Regions from separate parts of the Homo sapiens genome. Here region 2 is linked to region 1. The links are contacts of gene promoters, found by promoter capture Hi-C in human tissues and cell types (Jung and others, 2019). All regions are on one chromosome and are shown on one strand. The core of a region is centred on a gene start or on the middle of the fragment in contact, and the rest is flanking DNA. Distances in the headings are between cores, read along the strand shown. Region 1 holds the start of MNX1 (motor neuron and pancreas homeobox 1). Region 2 overlaps LOC105375607 (a long non-coding RNA gene).

Region 1 (6,191 bases), core at 42-2,541:
CAGCCTTCGGGTTAATCATTAGATCTCAGTCTCACACCTCCAACTGCCCCTTCCCGTTAAGAGAGGAAGAGAAGGCAAGGCCTGCGCATGGCCATTTTAATAATTCGCTGCCCGTCTCATGCCTGGGGGTCCGGGCGAGTCCTCGCAGGCCCCGGGCAGAGCCGAGGCGGCTTCGCAGCTCTTCCCCCGCTCGCTGGGAGCCAAGCGCAGAGAGGGGCAGGCGGTGCCGGTGGAGGATGCGCGAGGCCCTCCCGCCACGCGCATCCACGGGGGCCGCAGGGTACTCACAGTTGAAGTCGGGCATCTTAGGCAGGATCATGCCCGCGGTGGACGCGCGCAGCCACTGGTCCAGCTGGAAGGTGCCGGCGCCCAGCTTGATGGGGTCGGCGGGGTGCGCGGGGTGCGCGCCTTGCACCTGCGGGTACGAGTAGGAGAGCGCCGGGTGCTGGCCCGCCAGCGCAGCCGCCGCCGCCGCCGCGGAGTAGCCGTAGACCGGGTGGCCGTAGAGCGCCGCCTGCGCCGGGAGGCCCGCGCCGCCCTGCGCGCCCCCAGGGTGCAGCCCCAGCGCCAGGCCCCCAGCGGCGGCGGCGGCGGCGGCGGCGGCGGCAGCGGCCGCTGCGCCCGGATGCGCGTGGTGGTGGGGCCCCCCGTGCCCGCCGCCCGTGCCGCCGCCGCCGCCGCCCGCGCCCAGGAAGCCCGGCTTGGGCAGCAGCGCGCAGTGCGCGGCCAGCAGGCGCGGCGGCGACGGGCTCTCGGCGCGCAGGCGGTCGGCGGGCGCAGCCGGCGGCTCCGAGGACGCGGGGCTGCAGCTGCCGCTAGTCCCGCCGCTCGCCCCGCCGCCGCCGCCGCCACCTCCGGTGCCAGATGCGGCGGCGGCGAGCGACGTGACCAAGGCCAGCGGCGCGCTCTGCGCAGAGGCGGCTCGTGGGGGGTCCACCGCCAGCAGGGCGTCGATGCGGAAATTTTTGGATTTTTCCATCGGCTCGTTTGGGGCTGGCGCTCAGGGCCCGGTGGCGGGCGACGCGGCCGTGTGCGGGCTCGCGGAGTCAGTGCGTGCGGTGCAAGCCCGGGGGCTCGGTATTGTTATGGTGGTTATTTGCCAATAATCAAAGTCGCCGCCGGAAACTCAGCCGAGGGTGACCATGGTCCCGGCGCCTCCTCCGTGCGGGCCCCGCCCCGGGCCGCGCTCGCACAAACTCCCACGCGAGTGCTTCCCCGCGTCCGGGCCCGGGAGCCCGGTTCTTTGCGCTGCAGCCCTCAGGCGACCGCGCGGAGGCCGCTGCCGCCGTGGTGGGGACCCGCGCCCCTCCGCGCACTTGAAGCTCAGCGCGGCTTCCGATTGGCGCGCGCAGCGGGGGCCCGGGGAGGGCCGCGGGCTCCGCCATTGGCCGAGGGGCGCACCTGTCACCGTCCCGGCCGCCCGCCGCCCCGCCCCCGCGCCGCGAGGTCCTAAGCAGCCCGGGCTGTTGCGCGGCGCTGGCGGGCGGGGACACCAACGGGGAGTGGATACTCCGAGGCTCAACCTGGGGCCTCTGCCCGCCCTCCCCTGGGTGCGGAGCCGGACGGCGGGCACTGGCAACCCCCGGGCCCCTGGAGAGCCCCGCGGCGGCCCAAGACCCGCTCCCGAGACACGTGGGCCCCTCCGGACTTGGTTGGTCCCTGGAGCCAGCTGCGCGCGTCCTCTCCGGCCTCCTTGTCGGCGCTGGAGTGGGTCCACGTCTGCCTTGCGGAGCGCGGTGGTTCCACGCTCCTGAGCGCCCACGCTGCGCAGACCTGGCCGCTCTGCGAGGCGACGGCAGCGCACTGAAGACCGTGGTGTTTCCCAAGCCCTCCCTGCTCTCGGGCCTCCAGGGCGCAGCAGGGGAGGGTTTTGTCCCCGTGGCCAAAGCTCTGCAGGTCGAACCTTATCTGCTATGGGAAGGCCCCGCATTTTCAGGTGTGTGTGCGGGGGTGTGGGGGTGTAAACGCGCATGTGAGTGTGAGTTTGGCCTCCACGAATCCTCTCTGGGAGCCCCTGCCCCAGTCAAGGCGGAGACGGTAGATCTGGGCGCTCTGGCCTGCAGAACCCAAGTCGGCTTGCAGACGTCGCCCACGTGCCTGCTCAGTGGAGCGGGTCCTCGGTGACAAGGCTCTTCCTCGCTGCCGAGGGATGCCCATGGGCTTGCGGGAGTCAAGGCCCACACACCTCGGCCCTGAAAAACCCGTGGGGCCCGGCATCCTTCGGAAGCCCTGCCGCTGCGACCCCCGGCCAGTCCCCGGGCAGGAGCGGGGAAAGGCTATGTCTCTCGTGCTGCCGGGGCCTCCTGGGAAGTGGAGAGGAAAGGGCTTCCCGTGAGTGAGCGAGGCACGGAGTGAGCATCCAGGTCTCACCCCTCCCCCACACGCACACTTCAAATATTTACAGTAAAACCACTTCCAAGGGCGTTTTTGAAGCTGAAAGAATCCACACAGGGGTCGGGAAGTCAAGCGGCATCAACACCAGGCTTTGTCAATAGCGCCATTAGACCCAGTTATCTTCCCCAGCAAGCGTGAGAACTGGGAGGGAGTTCCAGGTTCCAGGGCTTGCTATGCAGGTGAGAGGTGAATAAAGGACCGGAAGGGGCTGTGGAGAGGGGAGAGAGCCAAAGAGAAACTCAGTGCCAGGTAAACTTCAAAATTAGCACGCCAGGTTGCTACAAGAGGGATTTTTAAAAAGGCAAATATAGAGACCTTGCCACTTCTCCTCAAAAGGCTTTTGACCTAGGCGAGAGTTGATGACAGTGACTCTGTTGCCATGAGTGGTATCGTTTTCATTATAACACAGGGTAGTTCCCAGATGCACAGGACTGGTTGGAAGGTTAGGAGGATGGCAATGGATGAGTAACTGCAACTTGGAGTAAATGTGATCTGGCTTTGCAGAGCCGACCACTGGTAAAAAGAAATCCCAGGCATTCACATGGAGTTTGTCGTGCCTTTAGATGTCTTTGTGGTGACACAAATGCAGTTCTACCTCTCACTGGAGAGAGGGAAACACGCGCATTTCTTGAACACCTACTATGTGCTATGAGCTTTCTGCAATTCTCATCCGTAATCTTCACTATGACACTAGAAGGAAGATTTTTATCATCTCCGTATCTCCATTTTCTTTTCTTTCTTTTTTTTTTTTGTATTTTTGGTAGAGACGGGGTTTCACCGTGTTAGCGAGGATGGTCTTGATCGCCTGACCTCCTGATCCGCGCGCCTCGGCCTCCCAAAGTGCTGGGATTACAGGAGTCAGCCACCGCGCCAGGCGCCCCCCACTTTTTTTTTTTTTTTTTGAGATGGAGTTTTGTTCTTGTTGCCCGGGCTGGAGTGCAATGCCATGATCATGGCTCACTGCAACCTCCATCTCCCAGGTTCAAGCGATTCTTCTGCCTCAGCCTCCCCAATAGCTGAGATTACAGGCATGTGCCACCAGGCCAGGCTAATTTTTGTGTTTTTAGTAGAGATGGGGTTTCACCATGTTGGTCAGGCTGGTCTCGAACTCCCGACCTCAGGTGATCCACCCACTTCAGCCTCCCAAAGTGCTGGGATTACAGGCATGAGCGACCGTGCCCGGGCTATCATCTCCATTTTCTAGAGTACAAGTTCAGAGAGTTTGGGATCCTTGTTCCCAGCAGACAGTTTGGCCTTAGAGCTGGGAGTGGGACCAGGTCTGATTGCAGAGGCCACACTGTTCCCACCCTGCTGCCCTCAAAGCTTTCAGGTACACCTAGCCCTGAGTCCCCATCCCATCTGTTTCTTTTTGGGGAGGGAAGGATTGTAAAGGAGACCAGAGATTCTTAGCCACCTGTCCCAGGCAGGAAGCCCTAGCTGTGACTCTGCCTCCCCAGGGTAGAGAACACAGCCTTGGCCTCCTCCTCCAGGGGTTTGGCACCAAGGCTGACTTGCCTTTCTCTTCTCATCACCCCCATCTGCTGGGGGCAGATTGCTTGGTCCTGAGGTCAATGATTTAGGGAGCTGGGGGAAGGGAGTGGCTGCAGAAGAAATCTCCCAGGATGGACCTTGGAGAAGATGCTGTTCCTCTCTCCAACCAAAAATACACACTGCCAGGGTGATTTTAGTTGGTGATGGGGTGTGTAGTCTAGACTCATGACATCAGCCATCTCCTTCAACAAAATCACAGTGGGTGTTTTCTGGCTTTTTTTTTTAACTCCTAGAGGAATTAATTTCACCCCTTTTTGTTCTGTAATAACCATGGTCCAAAACCCCTTCACACCCTGTCTCATGTTTCTATTCTGCCTGAGACCTGCTGAGGACACCTCCCTGAAAACACAGACAGGACAACACGTGTGCAGGTCCTTCAGGTGTCTGTACCACCTGTGGGGCTGTGCAAGGCTGTCCGAGGAGGCCTAGCCTAGCAGCCCTGCGTCCTGTCCGGACCGCCCCTCTGGCTGAGGTGCCATTTCAGGAATCTGAAGCTCCTTATCTCGATGGATTTGTTTCTTTGTCTACAGAAGCAGGGGTTGGACCAAATGGACTCTAAGGAGCTATAGGGCCTTAAAATGATCAGATGTTCTGCTTATATTTAAGAATATGTTAATATAAAAAGGAGGTTCTCTGTAAAGCTGCATGGAGAGAGGCAGGTGTGGGGGAGAGAGGGAGCTATCTGGGAAGTGTGGATCTTTGTGTGGTTTACAATGTGTGAGGCGGAGCCTGCTGGGTCTCTTCCTGTTCCCAGTATCTGTATTGATCCAGCCCAGCTGGCTTTGGGGCAGTCTGGAGCTGGGCTTGGGTCTTGGGAAGGGCCACAAAGAGAGATCAAAGGTCTGATCCTAGTAGTGCTACCAAACCTGAGTCTCCAGGTGAGTTTTCTCTCCAGCGGCCCCAGGGGCAGAACTCAGCCCTGGAGAGTTCTCCCTGGAGCTCTTGGTTTCTCAAGACAGGCAGAGAGGGCCTGGTGCACCCTAATCAGCTGGCCCCCACCACAGCTCCTCCCTGCCCAGCGCGGGAGCCTGCTTTCTACAGGCCTCCTGTTAAGGAACTGAAGAGTGCCTGCAGCTGCCCTTCCTTCCACTACTTGGGAAGGAGATGGTGATTTCTACAAACCATCACAAAAGAAAACGCCGTTGTAGTCTGTGTCTGTTTACATCTGGACTTACACACACAACTGGGAACCCGTGAGGACTGGGGAAAAAACCTGTACATTCACATATTCACAAGATGCGAGGCAGGTATCATGCATTTATTTATCATTTAGATATTGCTTTTTTTCCATGTGAAATGGAGCAGTTGCCTGGAAGGGCACTGGGTGGCTGAAGCAGGGGGCAGATCTTGCATTTCCAAAACTGAAGCCCAGGGCCAACAGAGAGGACTTGGCTGCAGAGGGGCCCAGGCACATTAGTCCTGTCCTGCTGAAGCCATGTGGTCTTCGGGGACTCATGCAGTTCCGTTTCAATGTAAACTGTCAAGGCTTTCTTCAGGAAACAGGCATGAAGATGCTGTGTAACTGGCCGGAGGGACCTAAGCACGAGTTTGAGATGGGACTTGCCCCTGGCACAGGAAGTAGCTTAGTTAGGCTGGAGTGGGAGCCCAGAGGGTCAGAGCAGGAACTGCTGGGAGATGCTCCGACCTCCTTCCTGGAGCTCAGAGGGAAGGAGAATCTGTGGAGAGGGCCTAGGCTCACCGGAGCTGGGGACATCTGCTCAGGTCCCCCCACCAACCCCAGCCCCTTCAGAGCAATGGGGGCCAAAGGCATCAAGTCATTCATGCTGTCCTTTGATCTGCTGACCTCCTCTATGGCCCCTGGGAGCTGGGCCTTAAAGGAGTCTGGAAAGGGTAGGCTCAGGATTAGCAACCCAAAGACCTGCAGCTCAAACCCTCAAACCGAGGCGGGGCCTGAGGTGGGCCCAGGTCTGCTGTGTGCTCCGCTCTATGGGTTTTCTCCCTCAGCCCCTCCTCCTCAGCCTCTCCCTGCAACCTGGATTTCCTGTTGCCATTTTAGAGGGCACCCTCACCCCGACTCCTCTCGCATGGCCAGCACCACCCAGGCTGCACTGGCAATGTGAGCCCCCCAGAACACCCCAAGTCACTGGCTTGACCCTCTCCTCTGAGCCCAGCCCTGGCTGCAAACAACCAGCCCCTACCAGGGGGGCTTGGCGAGAAGTTAGGGAGATGCCACAGGATTTAAATTAGTCAAATTCAGTGACCCAGGGGCCTTCTATTTTTGGAAA
Region 2 (6,594 bases), core at 3,325-5,824, 110 kb after region 1:
CTTTGTATTTTTAGTAGAGACGGGGTTTCGCCATGTTGGCCAGGCTGGTCTCAAACTCCTGGGCTGAAGTGATCTGCCTGCCTCAGCCTCCCAAAGTGCTGGGATTACAGGTGTGAGCCACCGCACCCATCCAACAGTGTTTATTTTGCCATGAATCTGTAATCTGGGCAGGGCTTGTCAGGCCCAGCTTATCTCTGCTTTGTCAGCTTCAGCTGGAGCTCCGGAAAAGTAAAGGGCTGGGATCACCTAGAGCCCATCCACTCCACAGGCCAGGTGTCCTGGACCTTCGCTGAAACACCTGCAGTAATCTGTGCCTGCAGCTGGGGCTGCCTCACTGCACACGACTGGGTTCCAAGGGACAGAGGAAGGGAGAGAAAGAAAGCAAGAAGGTGAGTGCTCGCACAAACCAGGTGGAAGCCATATTGCTCCTGTGACCTGACCTTGGGATGACCTTGGAAATGACCTGCATCTTCCCCTGAGTCCACAGAAGCAGCTTCAAATGGAGGGAAATAGACTGTCTTTTTTTTTTAGACAGAGTCTTACTCTATCGCCTAGGAGTGTCATGGCATGGTCTCAGCTCACTCTAGCCTTACCTCCTGGGCTCAAGCAATCCTCCAGCCTCAGCCGTCTGAGTAACTGGGACCACAGGTGTGCACCACCACACTCAGCTAATTTTTATATTTTTTGTAGAGACAGGGTCTCATCATGTTGCCCAGGCTTGTTTTGAACTCCTGGGCTCAAGCAATCCACCTGCCCTGGCCTCCCAAAGTGCTGGGATTAAATATTGCTTGGCCAAGCATGGTGGCTCACACCTGTAATCTCAGCACTTTGGGAGGCCGAGGTGGGAGGATCACTTGAGCTCAGGAGTTGGAGACCAGCCTGGGCAATACAGGCAGATCCATCTCTACAAAATAAAATTTTAAAATGAAAAATATATATTACTTTTCTTACTATAACACAGGTTTGATAATACCTGCTTGATGGATTATTACAGGGATTAATGAGAAAATATAAGTAAAATTATTTTGTAAGCTGTAAAGCTCTATACAAATGTGAATGATTATTTTAATTTAGTATTTTAAACTTCAAAACCAAATTGATACAACTGATCATTTAAGTCCAGGAGGTAACTACTTCCCTCTTGCTTCTAATGCCTGACAATGAGGAACAGAACTGGGGTTGAGGCTGCTCTCCAGGGAAGGCGGCTGATGCATCAAAGAAGGTCATGTTTTATTTGTAAATTGGGCAATGGGTCCTTGGAACTTGGTATTTTATCCTTTTAGTCATTTTGTATGTCCAAAATATTTCATCATAAATTTAAATCAATCCCTTCCCTTGCTTTTCTATTAATACGTGAGGCACTGGGTTGGGAGAAGTCGGATAGGGTCCCTTCATACCAGCTGGGAAGTTTCTGTGGTGACTGCTCCATTGGGTAAGATTTTAGCTTTGTTGATCAGCCCGTCTGATCAACAGGACCAGTTGCTGGGAGGTTAGAAGGAGCAGTGGACGGCCACTTGGCCATAAGCATCACACGGAGAGGGGCCTTGTCTCTGTTGCTGTGTCTCCAGCTCCTGGCGCACAGCCCACGTGTGTCTGCTGAGTGCGGGCAGCCCTGGAGTGGGGTCTTTGCCTTCTCCTCCTGTCTGTTTCTCCTGTTCTTCTGGGCCCCTAGATGATCCCACGTCTTCATGTCCTGGCAGTTGGGTGGTTCTAGGGACCGTGGGATAAGATTGCCAACGGGCCTGTGTGGGAGGGCCGTGTGCCACTTCTCATCACCCTGAGACCATCGTGTTCTTGTCCCCACTGTAGAGATGGAGGCACGAGAGCTGGGCAGGCTGACCTGCCGAGTGGCCGCGGCGGACACTGTCCTAGAGAGCCGTCCAGACTCCCAGCAGACCTTGCATTAGCACCAGGTAAACCTAGGGGTTGTTTGTACCTGAGCATGACGTAGCCTGCCCTGACAATTTCATGCTCCTGTCAAGAAGCGTGAGCTCCTGCATCCACACACAGCGGTTCTCGGGAGGAAAAGCATCACAGGCAAGGCAAGGGAGAGGAAGAGGAAGGTACATTTTAATAACAAACGGTTGAGGCTTTAAGTGAAATGGAAGATCTTTATGTGAAAAACGGTTGAGATCTGGTGATAATTTGAAAGTAAAATCCATGGTCCTTGTTTCTGTAACGGCAGTTTGAGGAAGCTGCATGTTCACAATGACCGTGCCGGCCTTCCTAGTGAAGGTGTCTACCGACTAGGACTAAAGCCATGGTGACATAAAAGAGATTTTCATAACTAAACAGTTCTTTAAATGTGTGTCATTGAGCACCCGATGTGGCTTCCAAGATAGTTCAGCGGGACACAGGGTAAGGTGTGGAGGCAAAAGTGCGTCTCGCCCAGACCCAGCGGTCGAGAGGGCTCTGTGGCCACCTCCACCAGCTTCTTAGCCACCGGCCATTTCAATCCAGGTGAGCACAGCACAGATGGGCAGGATTCTAACTCCCCTGCACCTCTGTCTGGAAATCTCTGGAACTGACTAGAAAGTGGTTCTGGAAACTTCTCTAGAGATTGTCTATGCAGGCCTAAGCACTGCAAATGGTACTGGCAGAGCCCAGCTTGGAGATTTTCCTGAGGTTAGACCCGCTGGCCCTGCTGCACAACCAACTACCCAGCACTTGGTGGCCCAAAAGCAAAACACATTTGGTGCCCAGCTGCTGCGGGCCAGGGGCTGCCGCGGGCCAGGGGCTTGGGGATGGCTTCGCTGGGTGCTTCTCTCTCAGGGCCTCTGGCGAGGCTGCAGTCAAGAGGCCGGCTGTGGCTGCATTTGCCAAAGGCTCAACGGAGGCAGGTGGGCCCACCTCAGGATGGCCCCGTTGTGGGGGTTGGAGCTGGAGGCCTCGGCTCTGTGCCGCGTGGGGCCCTCTGTGCACTGCCTGAGTATGCTCCCTGTGTGGTGTTTGCGTTCTCCAGGGTGCATGACCCAAGAGAGGGAGCACACAGGAAGCTGAGTGCCTCGCGTGAATGTGTCTCCGAGGCCCACACTGCGGAGTCCAGGTTTCTTCTACTCAGCAGAAAAGAGCAGCTAAATCCAACCTGTGCTCCAGGGGAGGGGCATAGGCGCCATCTTTTTTTTTTTTTTTTTTTTTTTTTGAGATGGGGTCTGGCCATGTTGTCCAGGCCGATCTTGGACTTTTGGATGCCTCCCATCTCAGCCCACGTAGCTGAGTCTACAGGTATAAGCCATGGCACCTGGCTTCAGGATCCATCTTTTGTTTCTTTGTTTTTGAGACTGAGTCTCACTGTGTCGCCCAGGCTGGAGTGCAGTGCCATGATCTTGGCTCACTGCACCCTCCACCTCCTAGGTTCGAGTGATTCTCCTGCCTCAGCCTCCTAAGTAGCTGGGATTACAGGTGCCTGACACCAAGCCTGGCTAATTTTTGTATTTTTAGTAGAGACAGGGTTTCACCATGTCGGCCAGGCTGGTCTTGAACTCCTGACCTCAGGTGATCCACCCACCTCGGCCACTCAAAGTGCTGGGATTACAGGCATGAGCCACTGCGCCCAGCCCAGGCTCCATCGTTTGAAGAGAGTGCCAGAGAAGCTGTGCATATACAGGCTGAGCATCCCTAATCCAAAAATCCCAAATCTGAAAAGCTCCAAAATTCAGAACGTTTTGAGCACCAACGTGATGCCACAAGGGGAGAATCTCATGCATGCCCTCACGTGATGGGTCACAGTCAAAATGCAAACTTTGTGTTCTGCACAAAATTATGTTTATGTATTGCATCGAGTTATCTTCAGCTATGTGTGTAAGGTGTATATGAAACATAAATGAATTTTGTGTTTAGATTTGGGTCCCACCCTCAAGATATCTCATTATTACAAATATTCCAAAATCCGAAAAAATAAAAATCTGAAACTTCTAGTCCAAACTATGTTGGATAAGAGATTGTAACTAGTATTTTAAATGCCATAAGATTTAATTGGCTAATATTTAACAATAACTATAATGTGCCAAGTACTAAGCTACATTTAGAAAAACAAATTGTCTAATCAAATGGTTGGTGTGATCATCTCTGAGTTACACACGAGCAGACAGACCTCAGAGGTGGCCTGACTTGCTCATACAGGCAGTACCTGAGATTTGAACCTTGGTCCTTTGATGCTGTAGTAACTATGTTGTTTATTTTCTGTATCTGATGCTCTGACACCTGGGGCCTGTTGACCCTGGGAGGCTGCCTCTCCCACAAACAGCCAGTTCCTGGATAGCGAACACTTGCCCACCCCACGCAGGCTTTCCATGTGCAAACCCTGCAATGCAGAGCCCACACCTGCCACCTCCTCTGTGGGCTCACACCCCAGGCCACTGTTCACCCACACTTGTCAACCCTGGGTAGGGACCAGACGCGGGGCAGCCCCTGGCCCCAGAGGGCTGTAATTATTCAAGCTGGGCAGTCCTGGGCCTGCTGACCCTGCCTTGGCCTCCCTTATTGTGGAAACCACAATAGAGGCTCCTGCTCGGTTCCCCCACCCCCCAGCATCCCGACCAACCCTGGCGCATCCCTGTGTGGCCCCTGTGGTGCGACCTGCCCTCCTCTCAGGATCTGTGAGTAACAAGCCATCTTTTCAATGGCAGCCATCCTGGATCTGTTGCCCTCACCATGCTGAACCATAAGCAAGCCTGTTGAAGACAGACAAACAGATGCCTGGCCTGGTCCTCCCCGCCGCCCCCTCCCTGCTGCCCCCTGGACACTTGCTGCTCCAGTGTGCACCATGGTGAGGGCACAGGGAGGCACCACCTGCATAGATCTCACAACAGCACATGGAGAGCTCTGCGCCAGGCCTTGGGTGCTTCTGGATTCCTTGCAGCTGGTGATTATTTCAGGCCCGCTGCTGCCTCTAGCCATGGCTCTTCAATGAACTTGTATCGGAAGAGATTTACTACTCTAACTAGATCTGTATCTCAATTTAATGAAAATGTTAAGGATACTTTGATGGTCTTGCGCCAGTGTAATTTTAAATGAAATGTCTTCACTCTTTGGCAGCCTGCACTGCTCAGGTGTTTAACTATCAGAAAGTGCTTAAGTGAAGTGCTCTTTGCAATACTGTCTTTACATCAGCTTGTTTTACAGCATTTTTTTCCCCAGAGTAAACAAAATAAGTTTTGTGGGTATCTTTGAGGCAAAGCCTCATCTGTGTTGCTAGAAATTAAACCCTGGCCACCATAGGTTACAAAGTGGTGCATCTTGGGGGAGACACCAGGCCTGGTGCTTCTTTCTAAGCTTTGGTTTCCACGTTTGTAAAATGTGGGTAATAACGTTTCCCTCATAGGACTGCTCTACGCACATAAGTTTAAAAGTCCGTATGGGGCCGCGCACAGTGGCTCACACCTGTAATCCCAGCACTTTGGGAGGCTGAAGTGGGTGGATCACTTGAGGTCAGCAGTTCGAGACCAGCCTGGGCAACACAGTGAGACCCCCATCTCTACTAAAAATATGAAAATTAGCTGGGCATTGTGGTGGGCGCCTGTAATCTCAGCTACTCGGGAGGCTGAGGCAGGAGAATCGCTTGAACCTGGGAGGCGGAGGTTGCAGTGAGCGGAGATCATGCCACTGCACTCCAGCCTGGGTGACAGAGCGAGACTCCATCTCAAAAAAAAAAAAAAAAAAAAGTCTATATGGCATGTCGTGTCATACCTGACAAAATATGAATCCTCAGTAAAGAGGAGCTTTGATTTTCCACTGCTGTGTTTATATGTTCCGACACTTGATTATTCGTAGATGACCTTGAGCAGAAGTGTAAGTGTATCTTCCCAAAACACAGGGTGCTCCGCGCTTGGCGAGGAGGAACTCTCCTTGACTGTCCTGGCAGCTTCGAGCTGTCCAAGGCGACAAGGAGCACTTGCAATTTGGCCTCCTACTTCCCACACATTGAAGGGCTGCCAAACACACGCTTAATTGTCTAACCTTTTTAAATGATTAAAATGATGGTGATGATAATGCGGAGAAGAGTAGAATGTTAACCGCAGCATGTTATCAGTACTTGGTGTTTTCATACTGTTTATCATCGCAGTTCTTTCAACCTGTGAACTTAGCAAAATGCCCTTTGAGTACAGATGCTGAGTGTCAGTAACGCTGGTCTGAAATGACCGGGCTCATTCAGCGTTTGTATCACTAAAATGTAGCCCTCAAGAATGGAGCCCGGCCAGGCCTATGCCTTCCACCTCGTGGGGCATCCTGCCCACGTGGCAGATGAAGTTGATGACGTTAAGTGACTCACCAAAGTCATGCAGTTAGGAAGGGTCAGGGAAGGGCTGGAACCCAAGTCTCAACAACGCTTTACTACTAGGAAACGTCTTAAGCGTTAGGAAGTTGAAGGCATGCATGAATATCTGAATATTGCTCAGTCTGCAATTGACAGTGTAAACAAGGTTTCACGGAAGAACAGCTCGGCGATCTGCCCGGGTAGCTGTGAAGTCACAGCCATGTTGGCCGATGGATAGTGGACACTGTTCCGTTTTTAGCAAAAAACCCCACAATCCTCAACCTTCAAGAGCTTTATGAGAAAAAGAAGAAAATGGAAATGCCTAGACTCACGAGGGG

The links. Contacts are between HindIII fragments. The study calls those that stand out against the background at their distance.
Region 2: a fragment that was not itself captured here is called in contact with the fragment with the promoter of MNX1 in region 1 in 2 of the 25 tissues and cell types used here (H1 embryonic stem cells and IMR-90 fibroblasts).

Annotation. Positions count from the first base shown.
Region 1 is chr7:157,009,372-157,015,562 of GRCh38, forward strand. It overlaps MNX1 (motor neuron and pancreas homeobox 1), which reads right to left and starts at 1,292. Exons shown (of 3, transcript NM_005515.4): 1 at 289-1,292. The coding sequence starts at 979. It overlaps MNX1-AS1 (MNX1 antisense RNA 1 (head to head)), which reads left to right and starts at 1,486. Exons shown (of 2, transcript NR_038835.1): 1 at 1,486-1,936. RefSeq lists silencers at 454-503, 514-583, 1,094-1,703. The HindIII fragment of the contact is 12,613 bases long and covers 1-5,035 here.
Region 2 is chr7:157,118,584-157,125,177 of GRCh38, forward strand. LOC105375607 (a long non-coding RNA gene) reads left to right here. Exons shown (of 5, transcript XR_928261.2): 3 at 269-389; 4 at 1,810-1,913; 5 at 4,629-5,426. Among named protein-coding and RNA genes, the nearest start is that of UBE3C, 17 kb to the right of the region's middle. RefSeq lists an enhancer at 6,575-6,594. The HindIII fragment of the contact is 4,704 bases long and covers 2,223-6,594 here.